2 separate regions of the Homo sapiens genome follow, and region 2 is linked to region 1. Evidence: promoter capture Hi-C in 16 types of primary human blood cells and fetal thymus (Javierre and others, 2016). All regions are on one chromosome and are shown on one strand. The core of a region is centred on a gene start or on the middle of the fragment in contact, and the rest is flanking DNA. Distances in the headings are between cores, read along the strand shown. Region 1 holds the start of NMNAT3 (nicotinamide nucleotide adenylyltransferase 3). Region 2 holds the start of PPP2R3A (protein phosphatase 2 regulatory subunit B''alpha).

Region 1 (5,429 bases), core at 1,956-4,455:
TGTAATCCCAGCTACTTGGGAAGCTGAGGCAGGAAAATCACTTGAACCTGGGAGGCGGAGGTTGCACGCCACTGCCCTCCAGCCTGGGCTACAAAAGTGAAATTTCATCTCAAAGAAAAGAAAAGAAAATGCCCATCTGCTGAAGTAGTTGCAGTGACTGAAAAGTTTGCCCTCTTTGGTCATTTGAAAAGTCCACCAGTCTCCCTTTTACATTTTACTTTTACCCACTCAAAGCTTGCTTTTCCTCAGCGACAGGTCAGAAGTCAAGGTTAGAATAGGTTCATCCAAATACAGAGGCTGCCCCAGTCTACGGCCTCATCACAATCCATCCACAAGCAAGCTTTCCAGAATGGCCTCAGGTCCATCCCAGGACTGTGACTCTCAGCCATCTGCACATTGCTTACTGCCCAAAGAGTTCCTCCTGAAACTTCATCAGCACACTGTTAAGTGATAGAAGGAAACTGCAGAATAGTGTTATACTGTAGCCAGATCTCATTTTAGTAATGACATTTTTATGCCTAGAAATAATGTTTTAAATGTTCAAAAATATGAGCTAAGTGGTCAGTTCCAGCTTTTTTCCCTGTAGAGACCTGTCTCCTGCAGCCTTGGGTGGGATGATTCCAAGGCATGCTCTTCACACAGTTTTCTAGGGTTTTCCCCTAGGATTAAGCCCTAAACATCTATTATAGTAGCTGGCTTAATCTTTTATTGAGCTCCCCTTTTCTTCCCTGTATTGCTTCTTCATTACTCTGCTGGTGTTCCATGTACCTCTCAAATAACTACTTGCATTAATTCTTACCTCAGGATCTGGTTCTGAGGCACTCAAGCTGAGACATCCTCTATGTAAAATCTTCCTCCTTCCTGAGGTGGCATTAGGTGGCCACCTTCCTTGAGCCATAATGGCAGATAGGATCCAGGAGAAATGAAACTTACCAATAAAGGAGAGATCTGAAAATATTATTCCCATTATACCCATAATCCAGTAGTCTTTTTGTGAGCTTAAGCAAATACAAGACTTGCATTTAGGTATTCCTCCTTCTAAAAAATTAGGAGGTAGTTGCCTCTCCAAAATGGATTTCTCAGCCATTGCGTCTTCACCGCTTAGGTTAGGTAAAGCTTGGCTATTATATGAGGTTCTTACCTTCCAGCACAAGGGGACGCTACTTTTTTAAAAAAATATTTTTATTTCCATAGGTTATTAGGGAACTGGTGGTATTTGGTTACATGAGTAAGTTCCTTAGAGGAGATTTGTAAGATTTTGGTATACCCATCACCCGAGCAGTATACACTGAACCCAATTTGTAGTCTTTTATCTCTCACTCCCTTCCCATTCTTCCCCTCTGAGTCCCCAAAGTCCACTGTGTCATTCTTATGTCTTTGCATCCTCATAGCATAGCTCCCACTTATGAGAATATACCATGTTTGGTTTTCCATTCCCGAGTTACTTCACTTAGAATAACACTCTCCAATCTCATCCAGTTGCTGTGAATGCCATTAATTCATTCCTTTTTTCTTGCCTAGGAAACCAGGCTTCCTCCTAGACCAAGCTTTAGTCTTCACTACCTCAGGCAGAGAAAGCTTCCCTTGCATGAGGAAGTCATTGCCCAGCCTCTTCTCTGCTCTCTGTGTGCAGCTTCTCCCTCCCTGGCCTAGGGCCCTGACCCAGAATGACTCTTCAGCCCACGATTTTAATCGAAGGCCTCTAATCAACCTGTGGTACTACATGCTACACAAGATTCTCAGAAATCCCTAAGCTTTCTCATGAGCCTCCCACCCTGCTGGGAAATAAGCTGACTTATCAATTAAAGAATATCCAAAGATGTTAAGCCACTTAATCCTCCCCAAAACTCAGTGCGGTAGGGGTTGTTACCTCCCATTATACGAAAGGAAAGTGAGGCTTGGGAAGTAAAGAGACTTGTCCAAGATCACCTTCTGGAGCCACATTTTACACCACAGGTAAGAGAAAAGGGATCCGAGAGGGCACGGACACTGTGTCTTCAGACTGAGTGGGGAAGTACCATTTACCTGGGTACTTATTGGGTGCAAGTTGCATGCCCCCGGTGCTAATACACAAGGGACAAATTTATGGGCCTCCTAAAACTGTGGACAGTGCACCCGTCCAGCCAACTTCATGGGTGCACCGTGAGGCTCTGGTGATGTGGACAGGCTTATAAAACACTCTCCATACTAAGATGAGGTTGTGTTCCTGTGTCTAGGAAACGCTGGAAATTAAGTGTACAGCAATCAAAAAACCTTGACATCATCCTTGATGTCTCTCTTTTTCGCACACTCCAATTCACTCCATTAGGAAACTGTATTGGCAGAATCTAGTGAATCTTGTCCTTCAAGGCCTCTCTCTGCAAGGCTCCCATGAGCCCTGGGGGCTTATGGAGAGTTCTGGGTGGGCAGAGGAAGCCAGACTGCGTTAGGGAAGCAAATTTGGGACCTAAATTTCCTAAGAAGGTTTTAGGGGATAGGGACCCCAATCTCTAAGACCCCAGGATTCTGTTAAGATTTATTTTCTCATTCCAAATAAATGTTCACTGGCAAGCCCTAATTCTGTCTTCTCTTTCTTAAGCAGCCCTCCCTTCCTTCTCCCCACACAACTGTGTATGCTTCAGGCCCCAGAAATCCTTCCCTGCTTTGAGGTCTGGCGTTTACCAGGGCAGGGCTTGAGAATAGAGGTGTAAATTTGTCAGAAGGAAACAGGGGCCGCGCAGTAAGAGAGTAGATCCTCATATAACATGGCAGAAAGTCAATGGATAAATCAAGAAATCGCTATGTAAGTTTCTTTTTTTATTTTTTTATTTTATTTATTTATTTTTTTTTTGCGACAAGCGGGTGACCACTAGAAGAAATTAACGGAGGAATTGTTAAAAAGAGCTGTGATGGGAGGGAGAAGTGGCCTGTTGCTTTCATTATAAGCAAATCTAGATAATTTTATTTTCTAATAAGTAAGTGGGCGTTACTTTCATGTATTTTTTTAAAAGAAAATTAAATAAAAATACAAAACAAACAGAATACAAAACAGGAGAATAAAAAAGCAAACACGCACGCAACACAAAAGAGCCTTGGCGGTTGGGAGCCAGCGGGCGGGGGCGGGGGCAGGGGAGAGGGCGGGGCTTAGGACCCTGGGCGGGGCCAGGGCCGGGTCTCCTTAGGGCCCGCCCCAGCGAAGGGGCGGGGCGCAGATCTGTTTCCCTCAGACTCCATCTGCCCGGGGCCGCTAAGGGAGCGCAAGGTCAAGTTCGCCTTGGCCCCGCCTCCAGCTCAGGTACTAGGGGATCTAGACCTGAGGCTGCCCGGGCCGGAGGCAGCCTTGAGTCCCGAGACCAAACGTCGTTTCCCTCTCGGACCTCGGGCGCCGGGCCGCGCGCTGACCGACAGCCCCTGCTAGGCCCAGCAGGTCCCCTAGTCCCCCGCAGTCCCCCGAGACTCGCCGAGCGCCGTTGCTGAGCCCTGCAAATAGCAGGTAAGCGCAGCGTGGGCCCCTCGTCAGCCCACTAGGACCTGGATCGCGGCTGAATGCCCGGGCCCACGTGACTCCTGGCCCCTAACTGAGTCCTGGGAGTCCCCGCTGGGGCGACAGGTGGCGGCGGAGTGCGGAGCCATCCGGGGTGGCGCGAACCGGGGGGACAGCTCCGCGCTGCCTCTGCGCGCCGGCGGTTCTCGCTGCAGCGTGTCAACCTAACCCCCAGCTCCCCTTTGGCTATGACCAGAGTCCCGGAGACGTGGGTTCGGATCCCACCTTTAGCACTCGTGCACTCAAAGGTTAAAAATATAAGCACAGTGTCTAACAAATACTTAACGTGTTCCACTCAGTGTCCGCTGCTGGGCTAAGTGCTGGGGTTACAGTAGCAGGCCAAAAAATGTGGTGCCCTCCCCCGTGCAGCTCACAGTCCAGTGGGGGGAGACCGACAGCAAATGGATATCTATGCAAACAAGTGTGAACGTTAAAACTGTGGTCAGAGCTATGAAGATTGAAATTCTAGGGTGCTGGAGAGATTTTATCAGGGCCCCCAGCTACAAAGGCTGCTGGAACTAAAACTTTAGAGAATTCCCGGGCGGGGAACAACAGAGCAAACTCATTTTGTTGGGAGAGAATGTGGCTTGAGGAAAGGAGGGTTGGTGGGGCTGGCCTGCAGAGAGCTGGGGGGAAAGCAAGTTCCTTAACCTTAACGTTCTCCTCTGTAAAATGGGATTGTTCTACCCATTGAGAATGGAAATGGTGAATGTAAATGACTTAGCACTGCGTGATGGGTGCTGGATGTTACTCTGCACTAAACATCCAAGGCTTGATGTTGTTCTGGACTAAACACAGTGTGCCTGCCTCTCAGCAAAGTCACTTCCCCTCTCCTTGAGTCCTGTTTCTTCCTCTATCAAATAAGTGGTTCTGAGTAGAATCTCTCAAACAGCCTGTTCTCTAAAATGATGACTGGTTTAGTTGTTCATTCTTGAAACATTTAACTGGCGCCCACTTTACCCTGGCTCTGAGGATTCAGAGAGAAATCAGACAGGGGCCCTGCCCTCCTGGAGCCCATGTCCGGTGGGCCAGGTGAAATAAAGTGACAGTTCCACCCTGGCACAACCCAGAGAAAGGGTTCTTACCCACTGGCCTTGCAGGGGAAAGCTTCTCTGTTTTTCTCAGAAAGCCACCCAGGAGCCCCTGAAGGTATGGTTCACACAGCTCCACTGAGCATCAGTTACTTCTTGAATTTCATTGGTGGTTCTCAGCTTTTGGTGTCACCTCTTAAAACTGGACAGAAGACTTCCCAGAAGCAGCAACTATGCTGGGACCTTGCTAAGGACGTGTCAGACCTTGAGACCCCATGGATTTGGGAGAGCATTTTAGGTTTCAGGAAACATCTGTCAGCTGCTCACTGTATTTTATTGGCTCAAATGATCCCAATTTCTTATTTGGCTCTGTTCACAACATTGTTGTAGACAAAGAAAGTGCTCCATGAAAACCAACTGAGAGGCCCAGAGAGTAGGGGAACCCAGATGAGGCAGGAGTCTGGCACCATTTGTGGGGAGTGGTAAAAAAGAACAGGTATGATGTTAACAGAGGGTGTTGGAGGGAAGAGGAGAGAGAGCAGCCATTGTGCAGCCTCTCTTTTCCCCTCTCAGACCACTGCAGGATGCCAGCCCATGAGAAGGGAAGCTCCAGGCTTGGTGGTCACAGACCTGGCACTTCTCAGCTCTGTGACTGACCCTGGGCAGCTCACTCACCTTGTGAGTCGTGAGGATTGCTCAGGCTTAACAGGTGCTTAGCATATCGTTGGCCCTGAAGAAATATTAACTCCCACCCTCTCCTTCTCCTGAATGAACTAAAATATACATAGTTGTAGTGTCTACCTCAGAAGGTTATTATGGGGATTTAATGAGGACCTAAAATACATAGAGCAGTACCTGACATGTGGGAGGATACT
Region 2 (5,269 bases), core at 48-2,547, 3.7 Mb after region 1:
TTAACATACCACCAAGAAAAAAAAACAACAGTTTTACTACAACACAAGCCGGCTGCCTACTGAACTGGACGCCCATGCTCTGACCTAGTATGGCAATTCTTAGGGTCTAGGCGCTGGGTTCTGTTTACAAGAAACTAAGGCCTGAGACTAAGGAAGAACAAAGAAAAATGCCTGGCACCAAAGGTGTGGGGGATGTTTTGTACATAAATGAAGATTTGAGGAGGAATACTTCCTCAGATGTTGGAAGGAATTACTCTTTTTTTGCTTACGTGTTAAGAATTTAATGTTTTCAGGCCATTTCCTAATTAGAAAATACCTTATAATTTACAAACAATAATTTGTCTTCCCCTACATTTGCTGACCACCAAGACTGGATAAAATTTCCTTAAGCTTTACCAGAGTGGGAGGACTGGGAATAACGGGAGCACAACAGAGTTCGGATGCAACATCAACTCCAAGCCCGGCCAGCTGGTTTCCATCGAGAGGTCCCCCAGGAGAACGCCCCTCCGCGGCGGCGGCGGCCAGGTCGGCGCGGGAGAGACCCACCGAGGCGCTCCAGCGCGGCCGCGGTGCAGGACCAGGGGCCGCCCGGCCTCCGTTTACCTTTGTTTCAGGTACCCCGGCTCCTGGCGGGCCGGGAATCCCGTCCGCGGCCCGGAGCTGGTGACACATCCTTCTTTGGCCAAGTCGGGCCGAGGTTGGGCAGGGGGCGGGGAAGGAAAAGAAAGCCTCAGCGCCTAACGACGTGACTCTCAGTTCTTCCAAAACGCTGGCATTTGTTTCTCTGCCAGGCTTTCCTGTTAACAAGTTCCCGAGGGCTGTGCGGGCGAACTGGCCCAGGAGCCCTGAAAAGTGGGAGGGCCCAGGCCGCCCCCGCCTACCCTCCTCCGCGGGCGCCCCTGGGGCAGGCAATTTCCACACCTCCCTGGTGCCGTGTCCCGGGACCGGCCGGCCGCGCCGAGGCAACGCACCGCACCGCACCGCACCGACTGGAATTCCGACTTCCACAGCCCAATCAGCTCCGTGTGGCCCCTCTGGCCAGGCCGGTCCCCGCCCCCAGGTCCCGGCCCCGCCCGCCCCGGCCTCCGCGCGCCGCCCCGAGCCTCGCCACCCCCTCGGGCCGGGACGAGGGAGCTGAAGGCTCCAGGCCGTGCGGCCAGTGTTCCTTTGCCTACCTCGTTGCCCGCGGCTCCTCCTCCGGCGGCTCAGCTCGCGGGCAGCGCTTGCCTCCAAGCCTCCCCGCGGCGCGGACTCTCGGGCTACGAATGCGGCGCGTGAAGAGCGGAGGCCCGAGCGCGCCCCGCCCAGCCACCCGCAGGCCCCTACCTCCTTCTCCTCCTCCTCCTCCTCCTCCTCGGCCCCACCCTCGGCGGCCGGCCCGCCCGGAGCCCCGCCCACGCGCCAGGCCCCGCCCACTCTCCGGCCCCGCCCCCAGCCTACGCCCCGCCCCTCTGGCCAAGGCAGGAAGGGGGCCTCCAGGGGCGCCGCGAGAGCCGCTGTGGCCTCGGCGAGGGCAGTCTCCTGTATGGCGGCGCCGCGGGGATGCGATTCGTGGTGGTCGCTGCTGTTTGACAGATTCGAGTCTCTTGCTCGGATTTATTACTGTTATTGTCATCGTCAATATTGTCATCGTTGTTATTGTTATCGTCATTAGTTGTGTTGCCCTCTTCAAGGGGCCTTCAAGGAGGCCCCTTGAGGGCAGCGCGCTGCTGGCCAGACATTCCCTGGCGCTCCTGTCTTCCCACAGTCCTGCACCTGCGCCACATTTCACTCAGCCCAAGAAGTTGTGTGAATTTTAAAAGAAGTGATACTTATTTTTAACTGTTATTGTTAACTGTTACTGTTAAATAAAACACAAATATAGACAGCCATATAAAACCAATGTACAGCTTAATGGATTATTCCGATACACACACCCTTATAACCACTCGCCAGATTTATTAATAACACCGTGTAATATGGTCTGCTCTGAAACAGAACCTCATTAATAGCTGGAAGGACATAGCCTGGAAGGGCCTCCCAAAATTGCCCTCCTTCTAACTGCCACAGTACTCAAATGTGACAGGTCCATAATCATGCCCTCTCCAAGAATATATTTGTAAAATGGAAATTTCTCCAGAATTAGGAACCTCCAATTGAGTATCTTCGTAAAAATCTTGATAAAATGATAAATCTATAAATATATAAGCATATAAATAACAATAAATAAGTCAATCAGTTGGGTTGAATACCATGAGTAAGGAGCATGGGGGTGGGGGATGGGAGGTATGTAAAGACTTAAAAGGATTAGGTGGGCTGTGAGGACAGGTCCTGGGCACCTGGGTTGTTCTCACTGTCTCCCCAGCACCTAGCATAGCACCAAGCATATACTAGGTGCCATATGTGTGTGTGTATATATGTGCATTGTACATATATGCACATATATGTGTGTGTGTGTGTATAGCACAAGGAAAGAAAAAATTATGTAAGATAACCCCAAACAAGCTTTACATACTGAAATTTCACCCAAGGTCAATCCTCCCAGTAGCTAAAGTGTGCTCTGTGAGATGCCTTGATGCCCTAGAGAGAAAGAGACCATTTTACTTTCAACTTTCTACTGCTTTTCCATTTCAAAAGCCCTTTCACATGCATATGGTATCTTATTTGAGACTGAGAGCAACTCTGTGAAAAATGCAGGGCAGGATAGGACTCTGCAAAGGTCACAGTGCAATGCATATCAGTAAGAAGGAAAAGTACACAATGTACCATAAAACAATGTTAAAACTGCTGACCCTGGCAACCTGGATTCTTGGTTTGTCTCAACAGTTTTATTGCCAATGTTTTTACATTAGGGCTCCTTTGGCCCTTTTGCCATGCATTTATACACATTATAACTTGAATGTATAAAGGACACAATACGTGACTGGAAATTTGATTCAATACAATAGAGTTAGTCTCTCTGTCATGAGGACCATGGTGAATTGGGGCTAGAGAGTTGCCAATTCACCACAATGTATTGAGTACTCAGACTGTACTAGGTGGTAGGAATACAAATGATATAAAATAAAGAAGATACAGGGGCTGGGCGTGGTGGCTCACGCTTGAAATCCCAGCACTTTGGGAGGCCAAGGAGGGTGGATCACCTGAGGCCAGGAGTTTGAGACCAGCCTGGTAAACATGGTGAAAACCCATCTCTACTAAAAATACAAAAATTAGCCAGGCGTGGTGGCACGCGTCTGTAATCCCAGCTACTCAGAAGGCTGAGGCGGGAGAATCACTTGAACCCGGGAGGTGGAGGTTGCAGTGAGCCGAGATCTCTCCATTGCACTCCAGCCTGGGTGATCAGAGTGAAACTCTGTCAATCTTTGTTCTCAAGGAGCTTATGGCCAAGTAAGGGAGAAAGATTTGAAAATAAATGTTTAAATTACATGACGGTAGGGGAGCAGTCATGAGCACAATTAATTCTATGAGGTATAGGAAGAGAGTAGGGCAAGTCTTATTAGACAAGAAAACATCTGAAATTTTTTTTAGTATAAAAATATCAAATATTGAAAACAGAGACAGAATAATATAATTAACTACTATGCACCCATTACTTGGCTTCAACAATTATCCCATGACCAATTTGTTCCATCTGTACCCTCACCTTTTCTTTCCCTCCTTGGATTATTTTAAGGCAAATCACATGGAGCATTATTATTTCATCCATAAATATTTCACTATGCATCTCTAAATGATAAGGTCTATTTTTAAAAACAACCACAAAATCATTAAATTGTCTTTTAAAGTAATAATTTATTAACATCTAGACAGTGTTCAAAATTTCCCAATTTTCTCATAAATGTTTCATGTAGTTTACTTCTTCCAGTCATGATCCAAACAAGTTCCTCACAATGCATTTGGTTAAAATGTCTTACACCTTTTTCTTTCCTTGTACTTTTATATTGAAGAAATAGATTGTTATAAGGAGTTTCCCACATTCTGCATTTTGCTGATTGCTGTGATGTTCTTTAACATGTGCCTCTAACCTTGTATTTCCCATAAAGGATAGTTACTAGAGGCTTGATCAATTTAGAAAAGTATAACCCATAATGAATAGAAAAATCAACAAATCAAAAATAGACCAGAACTATCACAGATGTTAGAATTAGCAGAGAAAGACATTAAAACAATTACTATGGCTGGGCATGGTGGCTCAAACCTGTAATCCCAGCGCTTTGTGGGGCTAATATGGGTGGATTACCCGAGGTCAGGAGTTTGAGACCAGCTTGACCAACATGGTGAAGCCCCGTCTCTACTAAAAAATACAAAAAAATTAGCCGGCCATGGTGGCAGGCGCCTATAATCCCAGCTACTTGGGAGGCTAAGGCAGAAGAATCGCTTGAACCCGGGAGGCAGAGGTTGTGGTGAGCCGAGATCGTGCCACTGCACTCCAGCCTGGGCAACAGAGTGGCTCCATCTCAAACAAAAACAAAAACAAACAAACAAACAAACAAAACCACAATTACTATAACTATATTCCAAATGCCAAAAAAGTTAAGTACATATTAAAAAGGGAAGATGTAAAAAAGACACAAATTGTATTTCTATAGTTGAAGACTATAATGTCTAGAATAAAAATACATTAGATTGGATTAATGGCAAATTAGACATTACCAAAGAAAAGATTAGTCACATCAATAGAAATTATCCAAAATGAAACACACAGAAAGAGAAATGTTAATGAAAAGAGCATCAGTGAGCTAAAGAGCAACTACAAGTGGCCTAATATGTGGAATCTCCAAAGGAGAGGAGTGAAGACAAAAAGTATCTGAAGAAATACTAGCCAAAAGTTTCCAAAATTTATGAAAACTATATACTCACAGATCTAAGAAGTGCAACAGACTTCCAATTTCCAGTACAGCAGACGATAGACTTACATCCAACCATATCAATAGTCATATTAAATGTGAGACTTCTGGTTCCAAAATGGCAGCATAGAAGCAAGCCGGCTCCCCCTTTTCCCCAGAAAAAGAAGACCAAACCCAAATACACAACACCAAGATTACCATCAATAATATCCCAAAACTGAAATATGAGGATGAGACAGTTTGCAGGGTCACAAAGAAGTGAAAAAGCTCCAAGCAGATGGTAAGAGAATGACTTCCATGTTCAGGATGCCCCTCCCCCTATTCTGTCCAGCACCAAGCATTCAAAAAGTTTCCTCCTAAATCAGTTTATACACTGGAAAAAGTGAGATCACGGTGGACAACCAGCTCCCCACCATCTTGGGATCCTTGGCAGGAGACTT

The links. The method cuts DNA at HindIII sites, captures the fragments that hold promoters and counts their contacts. A CHiCAGO score of 5 or more calls a contact.
Region 2: the fragment with the promoter of PPP2R3A here is called in contact with the fragment with the promoter of NMNAT3 in region 1 in 1 of 17 cell types (fetal thymus); the score reaches 11.4 in fetal thymus.

What each region holds. Positions count from the first base shown.
Region 1 is chr3:139,675,748-139,681,176 of GRCh38, reverse strand. It overlaps NMNAT3 (nicotinamide nucleotide adenylyltransferase 3), which reads left to right and starts at 3,205. Exons shown (of 7, transcript NM_001401600.1): 1 at 3,205-3,472. RefSeq lists a silencer at 3,102-3,151. The HindIII fragment of the contact is 2,876 bases long and covers 1,757-4,632 here.
Region 2 is chr3:135,961,756-135,967,024 of GRCh38, reverse strand. It overlaps PPP2R3A (protein phosphatase 2 regulatory subunit B''alpha), which reads right to left and starts at 1,297. Exons shown (of 14, transcript NM_002718.5): 1 at 1,176-1,297. RefSeq lists silencers at 821-1,100, 1,231-1,460 and an enhancer at 905-1,723. The HindIII fragment of the contact is 2,094 bases long and covers 393-2,486 here.